Linked DNA regions of Homo sapiens: region 2 is linked to region 1. Evidence: promoter capture Hi-C in human tissues and cell types (Jung and others, 2019). All regions are on one chromosome and are shown on one strand. The core of a region is centred on a gene start or on the middle of the fragment in contact, and the rest is flanking DNA. Distances in the headings are between cores, read along the strand shown.

The links. The method cuts DNA at HindIII sites, captures the fragments that hold promoters and counts their contacts. A contact is called where the count stands out against the background at its distance.
Region 2: a fragment that was not itself captured here is called in contact with the fragment with the promoter of ERN2 in region 1 in 2 of the 25 tissues and cell types used here (H1 embryonic stem cells and lymphoblastoid cells).

The regions. Positions count from the first base shown.
Region 1 is chr16:23,709,370-23,716,081 of GRCh38, forward strand. ERN2 (endoplasmic reticulum to nucleus signaling 2) reads right to left here and starts at 3,853. Exons shown (of 22, transcript NM_033266.4): 1 at 3,726-3,853; 2 at 1,544-1,649; 3 at 1,147-1,180; 4 at 803-875. The coding sequence starts at 3,818. The HindIII fragment of the contact is 19,919 bases long and covers 1-6,712 here.
Region 2 is chr16:24,361,116-24,367,827 of GRCh38, forward strand. CACNG3 (calcium voltage-gated channel auxiliary subunit gamma 3) reads left to right here. Exons shown (of 4, transcript NM_006539.4): 4 at 237-1,297. The coding sequence ends at 748. Among named protein-coding and RNA genes, the nearest start is that of CACNG3, 110 kb to the left of the region's middle. The HindIII fragment of the contact is 3,769 bases long and covers 1,709-5,477 here.

The DNA of each region.
Region 1 (6,712 bases), core at 2,603-5,102:
GAAGATTGCAAAAAATGGCCACAGATTGCTTTTCATCTTGTATTCATGTCTGTGTCTGTGTCCCTTCACACGGTGAGTTTTCAGCTCCTTCCATAAAGAGATGGAATCTGTTTTTTCACCACTGGATTCTCAGCTTGGCCATGTGACCTGCTTTGGCTGATGAGCCATTAGCAAATGTGACACAAACAGAAGCTTGAAAAGTGCTTATGTATTGCTGCTTTGGGGTCCCTTGTTGATATCATGTGAACAAGCCTAGGCTTGCCTGCTAGGGATAAGAGACATATGGCCCAGCCACCTCTGCCAAAAGCCAACCAACTACCAACCAACTTTCAGAAACACAGCCATCCAGTTGACTAGCAGCTGACCACACATGCATGAACAAGTTCAGTCAAGACCAGCAGAAGAACCACTGTGCTGAGCCCAACCTAAATTGTCATCTCACCAAATTCTGAGTTGAATAAATTTAAGTGATGTTTTAGTTTTAAGCTCTTGAGTTTTGGGTTGATTTTTATTTAGCAAAAGCTAACTGGTATATACATTTCTCTTTAAAGCCCTCAGAGTCCTGGAGAAGGCCCTGGGATACCTCCAGCTTGATAGTCAGATTGCCCTGCAGACACAGCCAGACCTCCCCTTACCACCCTTTCAACAGGTCCCTCAGACAGCCTTCTCACAATGTGCTGAGTCCTGACTTATATCCTCTGCAGAACAGGAGATACTGACCATACTGCCTCTCCACCTCTCAGTGCTCCAGCTGACGAAAGCCCTGGCTCTCACCCATTCCCGAACACCATGGGATACAAACCATTAATCCCTGTTGTTTTTGGGTCCCCAAGATGTACAGGCTGCCATCTGCTGGGTCAGAGAGAAAGGCCATTCTGTGGAGCAGAGAGAAACAAGGAGACCAATGGGTTCTTGCCCCCTGGTTTCATGAAGGCCCCAAATTCCTTCCAATTTCTCAGCTACTAGGAGCCTGTTCTTGTAGGAAACATCATGGGGCTCCAAGACCCTCCCCTATATCACATCCAGAGCCAATTCTCTTCCCTTACTTCCAACATGTCCCTGCCCCACATACAAACTCTCTCCAGACAACTATGAGTCCCCCATCTCCCAGAAGCCTCCTCCTTAAAAGGCCCCAGGTTCACTTACTCTGTGACGTACATTGGTCCTTCGATGACGGGATCTGCAGGGACAGGGACACAGAACATAAGCAGTTTCCTCCAGACCCCACTGAAAAGCACAGCTCATATTCACTGAGCTATGGCATGACTGTGATGTCAAGCACTTGGTGTGAATGTAATGCCATCTTCCCAAAAACTCTGTCAGATAGGGTCATATCCTTTGCCCCATTTTATAGATGAGGATGTTGAGGATCAGAGAGGTAAGGTGGGTTTCTCAAGGCCACACAGCTGGTAAGCAGTGAAGCTGCCTGTAGATACCAGCTTATTGGATTCTAGAGCCCATGTTCTTATTCTCTATGCCACAGTGACTATCCCTTCACCAATCTATGGGCCCAAGGAGGGAGGAGGGACCACCTCTTGCTCACCATCCCTCAGAGTCCACTTCAGGTCCCCTGTCTGCTTGCTTAGTGCGTGGAGACTTCCATCCAAGGTGGACACCAGCAGGAGGTTCTCTGGCCTGAGAGTATGAACCTGCAAGGGGGTAGAGACAAAGTCAGCTCTCTGAGGGGTCTGGGACCACCCTTTGCTCCTGTCCCAAGCAGGGCTGGCCATGACTCCCCTTCCCCCAGATGGGGATGCAGCAGGGGAGGAAGGGTGATTGGGGAACGTGCTGGTGTCACTCATCATCTCTTTGACCCTAGAGAAGGGTTATAGTGGAAGCTGGGGGGTTCTGAGGGGAGGTTTTGGCTCCCAATGTATCTAAATTCCCAATTACTTACCTCCTTCCTCAATTCATTCTGGTTTTCCAAAGAAGACTAAAGGCCTTTACAAAATGACTTCATTGTTTGTTTTGTTTCTTTTTGTTATTGTTCTTGTTGTTTTAATATAAGACAGGGTCTTGCTCTATTGCCCAGGCTGGAATGAAGTGGCATAGTCATAGCTCACTGTGGCCTCAAACCCCTGGGCTCAGCTGATCCTCACACCTCAGCCTCCCAAGTAGTTGGGACTACGGGTGTCTGTCATCACACCTGGCTAATTTTTGTATTTTTTTGTAGAGATGGGGTCTTGCTATGTTGTCTAGGCTGGTCTGGAACTCCTGGCCTCAAGCGATCCTCCTGCCTCAGCCTCCCAAAGTATTGGGATTACAAGCATGAGCCACTGCACCCATTCTAAGACTGGTATTATTAGTTTTCCCATTCTACAGAGGAGGGAGACTGAGGCTCAGGAAAGTTAGGTCATTGGTTAGGTCATTGGCATAAAGCCACAGAGATAATAAGTGGCAAAACTAAGGACTTGAGTTGCCATCCCTCTGATTCCTATGCCTGGCCTCTTTTTCCTCTGCCACAATGTCTACCTCTTTTGGGATGCCCCTTTCTGCCTCCCCAAACCAGCCCAGCTGGTTTTGGTGCCAGGCTCCAGTGGGTCCCTTGACCCAAGGCTGGGGGGTGCCCTTGGGAGGGGGGCTGGAGCCACCCGTACTTACATCTGGCGATCCTGGGCTCACTCACCTGCTCCAGTCCCTCCTTGAGCAAACAGGGTGAGGCTGAGCTCCCAGCAGGAGGCCTAACATCCGGGTGGCCCAGCCGCACCCCTACAAAGGCCACATCCTGCTTCAGGACCCTCAGGTTTGGGGCTGGGCCACTGGTGTTGAGTGGAGGGTCAGGAAATTATCTGCTAGCCCCTCTTTCTTTCTGGGCTTCAATTTTGTCATCTGCAGCATGGCAGGAGGGAGAACGGTTTGGAGAAGAGGCTGCAGATTGGTTGCCCAGAAATGAATTTTGTTTGACCATCTAGTGCTTAAAAATTTTTCAATTAGCTGCCAATTTTTTTAAAAATTGGATGATTTCTACAAAAAAACCAAGATTTCAAATCTTTCTCATTTCTAATTTTTCCAGAGACATCCGATCTGGCCACACTGGGCTTGCATTCTTAGCTGGCAACCATGAGGTGGACCCATGAGGTGGAAGCCGGGAATGAGAGGTGCCTAACTCTACCTGATCGCTTTTGCCCCATGGGGGTTCTAGGCGGGACACCTGGATTCTTAGGCCAGGCGACTTTTGCCTCCTGGCTGCATTTCTGTAAGACTCTGCTATTCCTGGCACCGTGGGAGCAGATACTGACACTCCCAGCTCATTTATCCCATAGGTTCTGAACCTGGGGTGCAGCCATGGGTAAGGGGACCGTATTGTAAAGCCTCTGAAATTGCAAAACTGGGCGTGCAGGCTCATTTCTCAGCAGAGGGCCCTGAAGTCAATCATATTTTCAAAGGAAGCCAGGATTCCCAGAAGTTTTAAGAGGCCTGGCTTTCGTGCCCAGGTGCCCCCCTACCCCAGACTACACCTCTCCCTGCTGAAGAGGCGGGGTGCTCTGTCTACTCTTGCCTTTCCACGCTGGCAGATCTCCCCAGCTAGGTATTTGTTGGGGGCAACTGGCGGCTCCCCAAACCCAGGAGGCTTTTACTCCGTTGGGGCCGAGTTGGGACCACCCAGGCGTGAGGGAGGGAGAGGTGCCCCCGTGGCCCCGCCGCGCCCTCGCCCCAAGTGCGACGCCGCCCCCTGCGCCCCGCGACCAGACTTTGGGGACTTGGCGTCGGTCCCTGGCTCTCACCTGTGGACTCAGCGTCCCGAGCAGCAGCGCCGCGAACTGGAGCTGGAGCCCCAGCCGGGGCCACGGCCTCGACCCCCTGACCGCACTCGCCATAGCGCCTGGGCAGCTGCACGGCTGGCCAGGTCCCTGGGTGCCTCCAAGGGAGCGCTCTGTCCCCGCCCGACCCGGAGAAGGCTCCGCCCCTGGCTGGGCCTGCAACCCCAGCCTGGAGTCCTCGCCGATCCCCGCCCTTCTCATCACACTCCCAGCCGCATCCTCGCGTCCCAGTCACCCCACCAAACACGGTGGGGCGCTTTCCCGGGAGAGGGATTTTACTGAGCCCACTTATGGAGAACTTGCCACGTGCCGAGGACCGTGCCGGTTCATCATCAGTTCCTGGAGTCCTCACTGCACAGCAGGTACAAGCGGAGGCTGAGAGCCGCAGTCCCAATACAGATCCGCCTGATCTCAAAGCCTGCGCTCTTTATCATTGCACCAGCGGATCCCGGTGGGCTATCAGGAAATAGCGATTAATTGGTGAATTCAGTCGTTCGTTCAATAAATATTTATTATGGGTCAGGTAAGTGGCTCACCTCTGTAATCCCAGCACTTTGGGAGGCCTAGGAGGGAGGATCACTTGAAACCAGGAGTTGGAGACCAGCAACATAGTGAGACCCCATCTCTACAAAAAAAAATGGCCAGGTGTGGTGATGTCCACCTGTAGTTCCAGCTACTCGCGAGGCTGAGGTGGGAGGATTGCTTGAGCCAGGAAGTCAAGGCTGCAGTGAGCTATAACTGTGCCATTGCACTCCAGCCTGGGCGACAGAGAGAGACACACTCTCCAAAAATAAAATAAATAAATAAATATGCATGTATTTATTTTTTGAGACAGAGTCGATCTTGTCACCCAGGCTGGAGTGCAATGGCACTATCTTGGCTAACTGCAACCTTTGCATCCTGGGTCCAAGCAATCCTCCTCCCGAGTAGCTGGGATTAAAAATGTGGGCCAACATGCCCAGCTAATTTCTGTATTTTTAGTAGAGATGGGGCTTCACCACTTTGGCCAGGCTGGTCTCAAACTCCTGACCTCAGTTGATCCGCTCACCTCGTCCTCCCAAAGTGCTGGGATTACAGGCATAAGCCACCGCGCCCAGCCAATAAATATGCATTTATTATAAGCTATGACATGCCTGCCTGATGAACAAGATGATGAGGTCCCTGTCTTCGTAGAGCTTAGAGATTCCTATGCCTTAGATGTAAGACAACTCCGCATGGAAGGGCACCTTCTAATGGCCGTGACCACCCTTGCTCCTGGTAGATGTCTCCAGTTTTGTTCAGAGAGGGTCTGCCAGGGTCCTTGAAGGTAAGGTCCACCCTGTTTGCAAGTTTCAACTCATTCATGTCTCCTTCATCCTTGTGTAAAAATAAAAAAAAAAAAATCCCTGCTGATTTGAGGGTCATGCAGCCCAGCTCTGCCACCTTCTCCCCGTCCTCTTTGTCATCCTTGGCCCTCCTGGTCATCCCCTCACAGTTACTGAAAACTTGGTAGCTTGGCCCCTAGCCTTCATCTCCATCACAAATCCTGCCACTCTCCTTGGTGTCTTCAATGTCCAAGGTACAGCTTAGCCAGCATTGCAGCCTCTCAGTGGGTGTACCTCTTTGGAGACCTTATCCCCCACGCCACAACTGCACTGGGCCCTTGTCACACTCAGAACCACTTTAGTTCCAATGTCCCTTTCTCTGATTGCAGCCTCCTCTCCATGCAACGGTTTCACCCTTTCATTCTCCTTATCCCTGTGCCCTGACCTACACGGTACCTTCATCCCTCAGTCTCTCTTCCACTCTGTCAGCCCCTTCCTTGTCCTTATCCTGCTTGGACCTCCTAGCTGACCATCTGAAGGAACTACACCACTGTCTTAGGCTGGGTTGAAACAGGTTGGGATTTTTGTGAAAGTTATTTCACACTAAGCCATACCAGGTTCAGAAGTTCAAGAGCAGCCTGGGCAACATAGCAAGACCTCAGTCTCTACAAAAAATAAAAAATAAGCCAGGCACGCTGGTGTGCACTAGTAGCCCCAGCTACTTGGGAGGCTGAGGTAGGAGGATCCCTTGATTCCAGGAGATCCAGGCTGCAGGTAGCACCACTGCTCTCCAGCCTGGGCAACAGAGTGAGACCCTGTCTCTAAAAAACAAAACAGGCTGGGCGCGGTGGCTCATGCATGTAATCTCAGCACTTTGGGAGGTCGAGGTGGGTGGATCACCTGAGGTCAGCAGTTTGAGACCAGCCTGGCCAACATGGTGAAACCCTGTCTCTACTAAAAATACCAAAATTAGCCGGGCGTGATGGCGCATGCCTGTAATTCCAGCTACTTGGGAGACTGAGGCAGGAGAATTGCTTGAACCCAGGAGGTGGAGGCTGCCGTGAGCCATGATCGTGCCATTGCACTCCAGCCTGGGCAACAGAGTGAGACTTTGTCTCAAAATAAATAAATAAATAAAAAACAAGACAAAACAAAACAAAAACAAAGAAATATGTACATTATGAAGTCTTTAGTTTACTTGGTTGCTCTTTCATGCTTAGCTGTTCCAACACCCCTAAATTGGCCCAGTACTCCTAACTTTATAACAAAAGTGATTGTTTGCCATTGTAGAACCTAACCCAAGCTATTGAGTGTGTGAATGAACCCTCCTTTCTGCTCTATATTTTGTACACTCTGCATTGTTTTGAAATGTACATTGTGTTTACTATGCTTGGATTCAGGCATTTCTCATGCAAAAAATTTGACTTGCATAAAATACAAACTGCAAATGAACTGGAATAAATTGTGTGTGTGTGTGTGTGTGTGTGTAATGATAAAAGCAATATACATTCTAGAAACTTTGTAAAATTCAGAAAAATTTAAATAAGAAAATATCTGGACAGGTGTGGTGGCTCACACCTGTAGTCCCAGCTACTCAGGAGGCTGAGGTGGGAGGATCACTTGAGCCTAGGAGCTGGAGGCTGCAGT
Region 2 (6,712 bases), core at 2,343-4,842, 650 kb after region 1:
TAGGAGTAGGGTGTATTCTTCAGCTGAATACACATTGCCTGGAACTGAGCAGCAGAATTCTTCATTTCCTAAGTGACAGACCATGCAAGAAGAACTAGGTGGTTGGATTTCCCAGCTATAATCCATTCTCCTCTCTCCCCATTACCTCCACATTTTCTATAAATATTTTAAGATGGAAAGTGACAGTTCTCTCCGAGGTGTATAAAGGACGTGTTTTTCTTTTCCCCTTCTCTTAGGGTTAAGCAACATCATTGGCATCATAGTTTATATATCAGCCAACGCCGGAGACCCCGGGCAGCGTGACTCCAAAAAAAGTTACTCCTATGGTTGGTCCTTTTATTTCGGAGCCTTCTCTTTCATCATCGCAGAAATTGTAGGAGTGGTTGCCGTGCACATCTATATTGAAAAACATCAGCAGTTACGAGCCAAATCCCACTCGGAGTTCCTGAAGAAATCTACTTTTGCCCGCCTCCCACCCTACAGGTATCGATTCCGGAGGCGGTCAAGTTCTCGCTCCACCGAGCCCAGATCCCGAGACCTGTCCCCCATCAGCAAAGGCTTCCACACCATCCCTTCCACTGACATCTCGATGTTCACCCTCTCCCGGGACCCCTCAAAGATCACCATGGGGACCCTCCTCAACTCCGACCGGGACCACGCTTTTCTACAGTTCCACAATTCCACACCCAAAGAGTTCAAAGAGTCACTGCATAATAATCCGGCCAACAGGCGCACCACGCCCGTCTGAACTGACCTCTGACCTCTGCCCCACGCCCAGCACAGCCTTGGGGGAAGTGTACAGAGATGTCTCTGAGGTTGCATGGCATGGTCCTTGTGATGGTATTACTTTTTACAAAGAATGAAACCAAATGGACTCAGCCCTCTCCCACATTTTCCCCTCACCCTCCAAGTCCTAACCCCTCCATCCTCTCTAACTTTTCAAGCCAATCCCTTAATGTCATTCCTCTCTCTGTGTATCTGTGCCAGATGTTTTCCTTTCTTCCTTCTTTACTGGAAGGACCTCCACATTCTTCCCTCCTTGGAAGAGGACTTTACTAAAAGTCACAGGTGGTGGCCAGGGGGGATTTCCGAATCTCCATCAGGCGCGCTCATAGTTGTCCCCATTGTCTACCCACACAAATCCTCAGGAAACCAACCACCGCCCAGGTGGCCCTGAGGGAGGCATTCACCTTTATGTGTTAGAAAAACATGACCAGAAATCAAAGATGTCAGAGCCCCGAAGCAGCTAATGTAATAAGCACTCATGTTATTAAAGGTTTTGCCTTGTCGTAACCAACCGAGCCGGGGGTGTTTTGTTTCTTGTGGGTGTTTCCTACACAAACTCACTCCCCTGCCTCCAAACTGGCTCATGTCCATCTTGGAAGCTGAACTTTGCTCATCCACACTTGAGCCACTAGGAAGGATCTCCCTGCACCTTTGGAAGCTAGTAAGGCATTCCCACAAATGTCCAAATCAATGCATCCTTCTACTTGAATTCCTGGAGGCTACCTGGGGGTGGGTGAGTGAATGCTGGTTTTCAAGATCTAACTTTGGCATGCAATAGCTCTAGAACCTTGGGCAAGTCACCTAAGCCTCAAGCCTCAGTCTCCTCATCTGTAAAATGGAACATGATAATAGCACTCTCCTCCACAGAGTTATGAGGTTTAAATAAAACTGTGTGTAAAATGATTAGCACATTGTAAACAATTGATATATATTTTTCAATGTTTCAGGTGGATTTTAGGCAGAGTAAGCATTATGTTGATCTGCTTTTGCTGTGACAACAAAATATCAAAATGGGCCAGGAGAGGCGGCATGAGCTTGTAGTCCCAGCTCATGGAACTACAGACTTGGAGGCTGAAGCGGGAGGATCACTTGAGCCCAGGAGTTAAAGAGTTCAAGTCTAGCTGAGACCCCAGCTCTTAAAAATAAAAAAATCAAAGACTGGTTAAACAACAGACATTTATTTCTCAAAGTTCTGGAGGCTAAGGAGTCTAAGATTAAAATGTCAGTAATTCAGTTTCTGCTCAGGGCTCCTCTTCCTGACTTGTAAACAGCAGCCTTCTTGTTGTGTTCTCACATGATAGAAAGAAAGTAATCTCTTTCTCTCTCTCTCTCTCTCAATTTCTCTTTTCATAAAGCCACAGATCCCACAGTGAGGGTCCCACCGGTCCCACCCCCATGATCTCATCTAACCCTAATTATCTCTCAAAGATCCTATCTCCAAATATCATCACACTGGGGATTAGGGATTCAACATATGCATTTTGGGGGAATGGGAAGGTGGATGGAGACACAGTTCAGTCCACAGCAAGGGTTACTTTAGCAAGATAAAAGCCAAATGGAAGTTACTTTATATAAGGGAGAGAGAGAGAGTATACTTTGCACAGGCTCTGAGGGCTCTGGGAAGAGAGAATGGAAGGATTTGAATATTTTAAATATTTGATGTTGGAAAGCATGAGAAATATGTTGGCCAGGCATGGTGGCTGACTTCTGTAATCCCAACACTTTGGGAGGCCAATGTAGTTTGAGACAAATGTAGTTTGAGACCAGCCTGGGCAACACAATGAAACCCTGGCTCTACAAAAAAATACAAAAATTAGGTGAGCATGGTGGCACATGCCTGTAGTCCCAGCTACTTGAGAGGCTGAGATGGGAGGATCACCTGAACTCAGGGAGGTGGAGGCTGCAGTGAGCCGTGATCATGCCACTGCACTCCAACCTGGGTGACAGAGTGAGACCCTGTCTGAAAAAAGAAAAGAAAAAAGTATGAGAAATATGTCACCTATGCCCACAGTGACTTCCTTGAGCATTTTTGGCACACACCCAGGTCTTCGCACTTCTGAGGAGCCTTCCCACTTAGGGCCGCAGCATGCTAGGAGGCAGGGTTGCAGGCTTGAGAGCTCACACTTAGCTGATACTGTGGGTACCAGGCTGTGTTCTGCTGCCATACACACACAAAATCATTTCATCCTTCCAGTAATCCCATGAAGAAAATACCTCCCAAAATCTCCACTTTACCAATGAGGAAACTGAGGAAAGAGAAGTACCATGACTTGCCCAAATTGTATTCCCACTATGGGACAGAAGTACTGGGAAACTAGTACCTTGCCCACACTCACACAGTAAATTTCATTGTAAAGTGCACCTAGGGACAATTCATTTTGTTCAACACTTGAGTCATTGCATGCAAATGACACGCACATACATTAAATTATCTCATTTAGTCCTCCAAAGAACCACGTGTAGTAGGAATTATCATCTCCATTTTGGCAGGTAAGGAAATAGAGGCTCAAAGAAAGTAAGCGTCTTGGGTGCTAATGAGCAGAGCGACATTTGTATCTAAGCCTCTGCTTCCTACGTTGCGTGGCTTCCCCAGTATTCCAGCATTTTCCAAGCTCAGTCATTTGAGCGCCACTCCTAGGAAGTTTTTTATAGCCACATCCCACATCAACAACTATTTACCTAATGTCTTTCTTCAAGCCTACTTGCTTTTAATCCTTTAATAAATATATTTCGAAAAGGAATTTTATAACACTACTATAAAGAGAAAACTGAAATTCCTTGCCATAATCAAATGGTAACTGGGAAAATAAATACAATACAAACGAAAACAATCATGCTATACTTTAGCTGTTGCTAGCTTAGCTCACTGCAACCTCCACCTCCCTGAGTTCAGCTGAAGGCCGGCTGCCGGCTGCCTGTTCTTTGTGAAAAGGATATAACCGAAGTGTTAGAGAGGTGTTAAAGGATATTCTGGCACCAAAAGAAGATGCTTCCCTTGGTTTACTCAGAAGGAGCAAAGGAGAAGTCAAAAGGGAATACCCTTCTCACTGTGTGATTTGACGCTCTGTGATACTGCGGCCATGCACCATATCAAATCATCTACTCTTTTTATTATGGAAGTTTACAGAGCACTTTATTTTTTTAATTTTTTTTTTAAAGATGAAGGATGAGGTAGATTTTATTTTGAAGCATGTGAAAAATATTTGGGAATGGTAACTCAGGTAATTTTTTTTTATTATTATTTTACTTTAAGTTCTGGATACAAGGGCAGAACTTGTAGGTTTGTTACCTAGGTATACATGTTGCATGGTGGTTTGCTGCACCTAGCAACCCGTCATCTAGGTTTTAAGCCCTGAATGCATTAACTATTTGAAACTGTGGAATGCTTCACGAATTTGCATGTCATCTTTGCTCAGGGGCCATGCATCTCCTCCTACTCTTGGGGACAAGTGGTCCAGCCACCCTTGGAGAGGGAAGGATCTGAGAACTGGAGCAAATATGTGAAGAACACTGTGAAGGGGAAGCAGCAGCATCCAGGCACCCTGGGAACTGGGAGTGTGCAAAAACAGGGCATCGGGGAAGTGGATCTGGGATGGAGAGAAAGGCCCCAGCGCCTTAACTAGCGGGGTATCAGCCCTGGTAGTCAAGAATAAAGTCCTTCTGCAAAGGCCAGAGTGCTAGAGGAGAGAAATGGCCACGTGACCCCCGGAAGGACTCCCTCTGTACCCCACATGCCTCCCCACCGCACCATCTAGGTTTGCTCCCTGAAAAGCTTTGGCACAGGAGCCTCGGGATACCTTTGCTTGACAGCTGCTCAGTTGAACCCCGCTGGCTGGCATCAGATAGATATTAATATTACCACTTCTGGGTTGCAGCCAGGATTCAGGCCTATCCTTGCCATCCAAATCCACTGGAAGATTATTTCCATTCACTAAGCCGCCACCCTCTGTGTCAGACACTGTGCCATGAACTTCACTCATCTTGTCTCATTGAATTCTCATATTTGTGGCAGGTATGATTGTTAAATCCATTGTGAAGATGGTGAAACTTACAAGTAGACAGCAAAGTCGATACACAAACCCACGTCTGCCTGACTTGAAAGCCCATGCAGCAGCCCCTCACTAAGCATTCCTGGCCATGCTGCTTGAATCTCTTGCTCCATTGCTGAGTTCTCCATCTCCTTCTCCCTCAAATGCAGCTCCCTTTCCCAGCTGCATTTGAGGGACCAAATTTCTGGACCAGCAGATCCCTCCACCAATCTCAGGACCAGAACCCTTGAGTTTCTCTTTGCTGCTGCTTTAATGTGTAGTCCCTGGAACTGAGTTTTTGCCAAGTTATGCCTCTACCTTTTGAGAACAGAGAGGCAGCTTGCACAACATTCAAGCATGGAAACTCTGCAACTGGATCTGGACAGTTGCGGAGTTTGATTCCTTTGACTTTGAATCCAATGACTTTGAATCCCAGCTCTGTATTTATCAACCACAGACCTTTGACAAGATCGTCACCCTCTGTCTCAGCTTCTCTGTCCATAAAATGGGCACAAATATAGCACTTACTCCGTAAGTTCATCGTGAGGATTAAATGAGCTTACCTTCACAACGCACTTAGAAAAGAACTTGAAACACCATAAGCACCATATAGATGTTAGCTATTGTGATTTAATATAGTTCACAGATTTACATTTTTCCCATTTGGGTGCTTTTCTGCCTGGACAATCTTCTTTTCCAGATCTTGTCAGCACAGGCTTCTGCACTAATCAGGCTGGTGTCCACACTATACCCTGGGCTAGCTCAGGCTTTCTCCCGATTCTCTGCCTTTGCTGATAAAGGTTATCCCTACCTGAAATGTTTCCGCTTGCCCTCTCCAAATCCTATCCATCCTTCAAGGCCAAGGTCAAGCCTCATGCTTTCCATGAAGTCTTTTTTTTTTTTTTTTTGAGATAGAGTCTCACTCTGTTGCCCAGGCTGGAATGTGGCGGCACAATCTCAGCTCACTGCAACCTCCGCCTCCCAGGTTCAAGCAATTCCCATGCCTTACTCACCCAAGTAGCTGGGATTACAGGTGTACACTAAAACTCCCGGCTAATTTTTGTATTTTATTAGGGATGGGGTTTTGCCATGTTGGCTGGTCTCAAACTCCTGACCTCAAGTGATCTGCCCACCTCGGCCTTCCAAAGTATTGGGATTACAGGCATGACCCATTGCACCCAGCACCATGAAGTCTTTTGTGGCTCCTCGGGCCACACAATCTCTCACTTCTGCGCATTCATCCATTTATTCATTCATTTATTTATTCAGCACTTATCATTCAGCACTTATTGTGCGCTGGTGCTATCGTTTGGATGTTTGACCCCCTTCAAACCTCATGTTGAAATTTGATCCCCAATGCTGAAAGTGGAGCCTGATGAGAGGCAGATGGGTCAGAGAGGTGGATCCCTCATGAGTAGATTAATGCCCTCCCTTGGGAATGAGCGGATTCTTACTGTATTAGTTCACATGAGCTGGTTGTTTAAAACAGCCTGACACCTCCCCTCTGTCTCTCTCTTGCTTCCTCTCTTGCCATGTAATCTCTGCATATGCCGGCTCCCCTTGCCTTCTGCTGTGAGTAAAAGCTTCCTGAGCCCTCACCAGAACAGATGCTGGCACCATGTTTCTTGTACAGCCTGCAGAACCGTGAGCCAAATAAACCTCTGTTATATATAAATTACCCAGCCTCAGAGATTCCTTCACAGCAACACAAAACAGACTAAGACAGCCAGAAGGAGTAATAATCCCAAAAGATATGACCACTGTCCTCATGGAAGTCTCAGTCTAGTGGAGGAGACAAGCACTGAACAAATGAACATACACATCAACATCATTCAAAATTGTGATCTATGTCATGAAGGGAAAACGTAATGCAAAAAATACAAATATAAATGGGAATC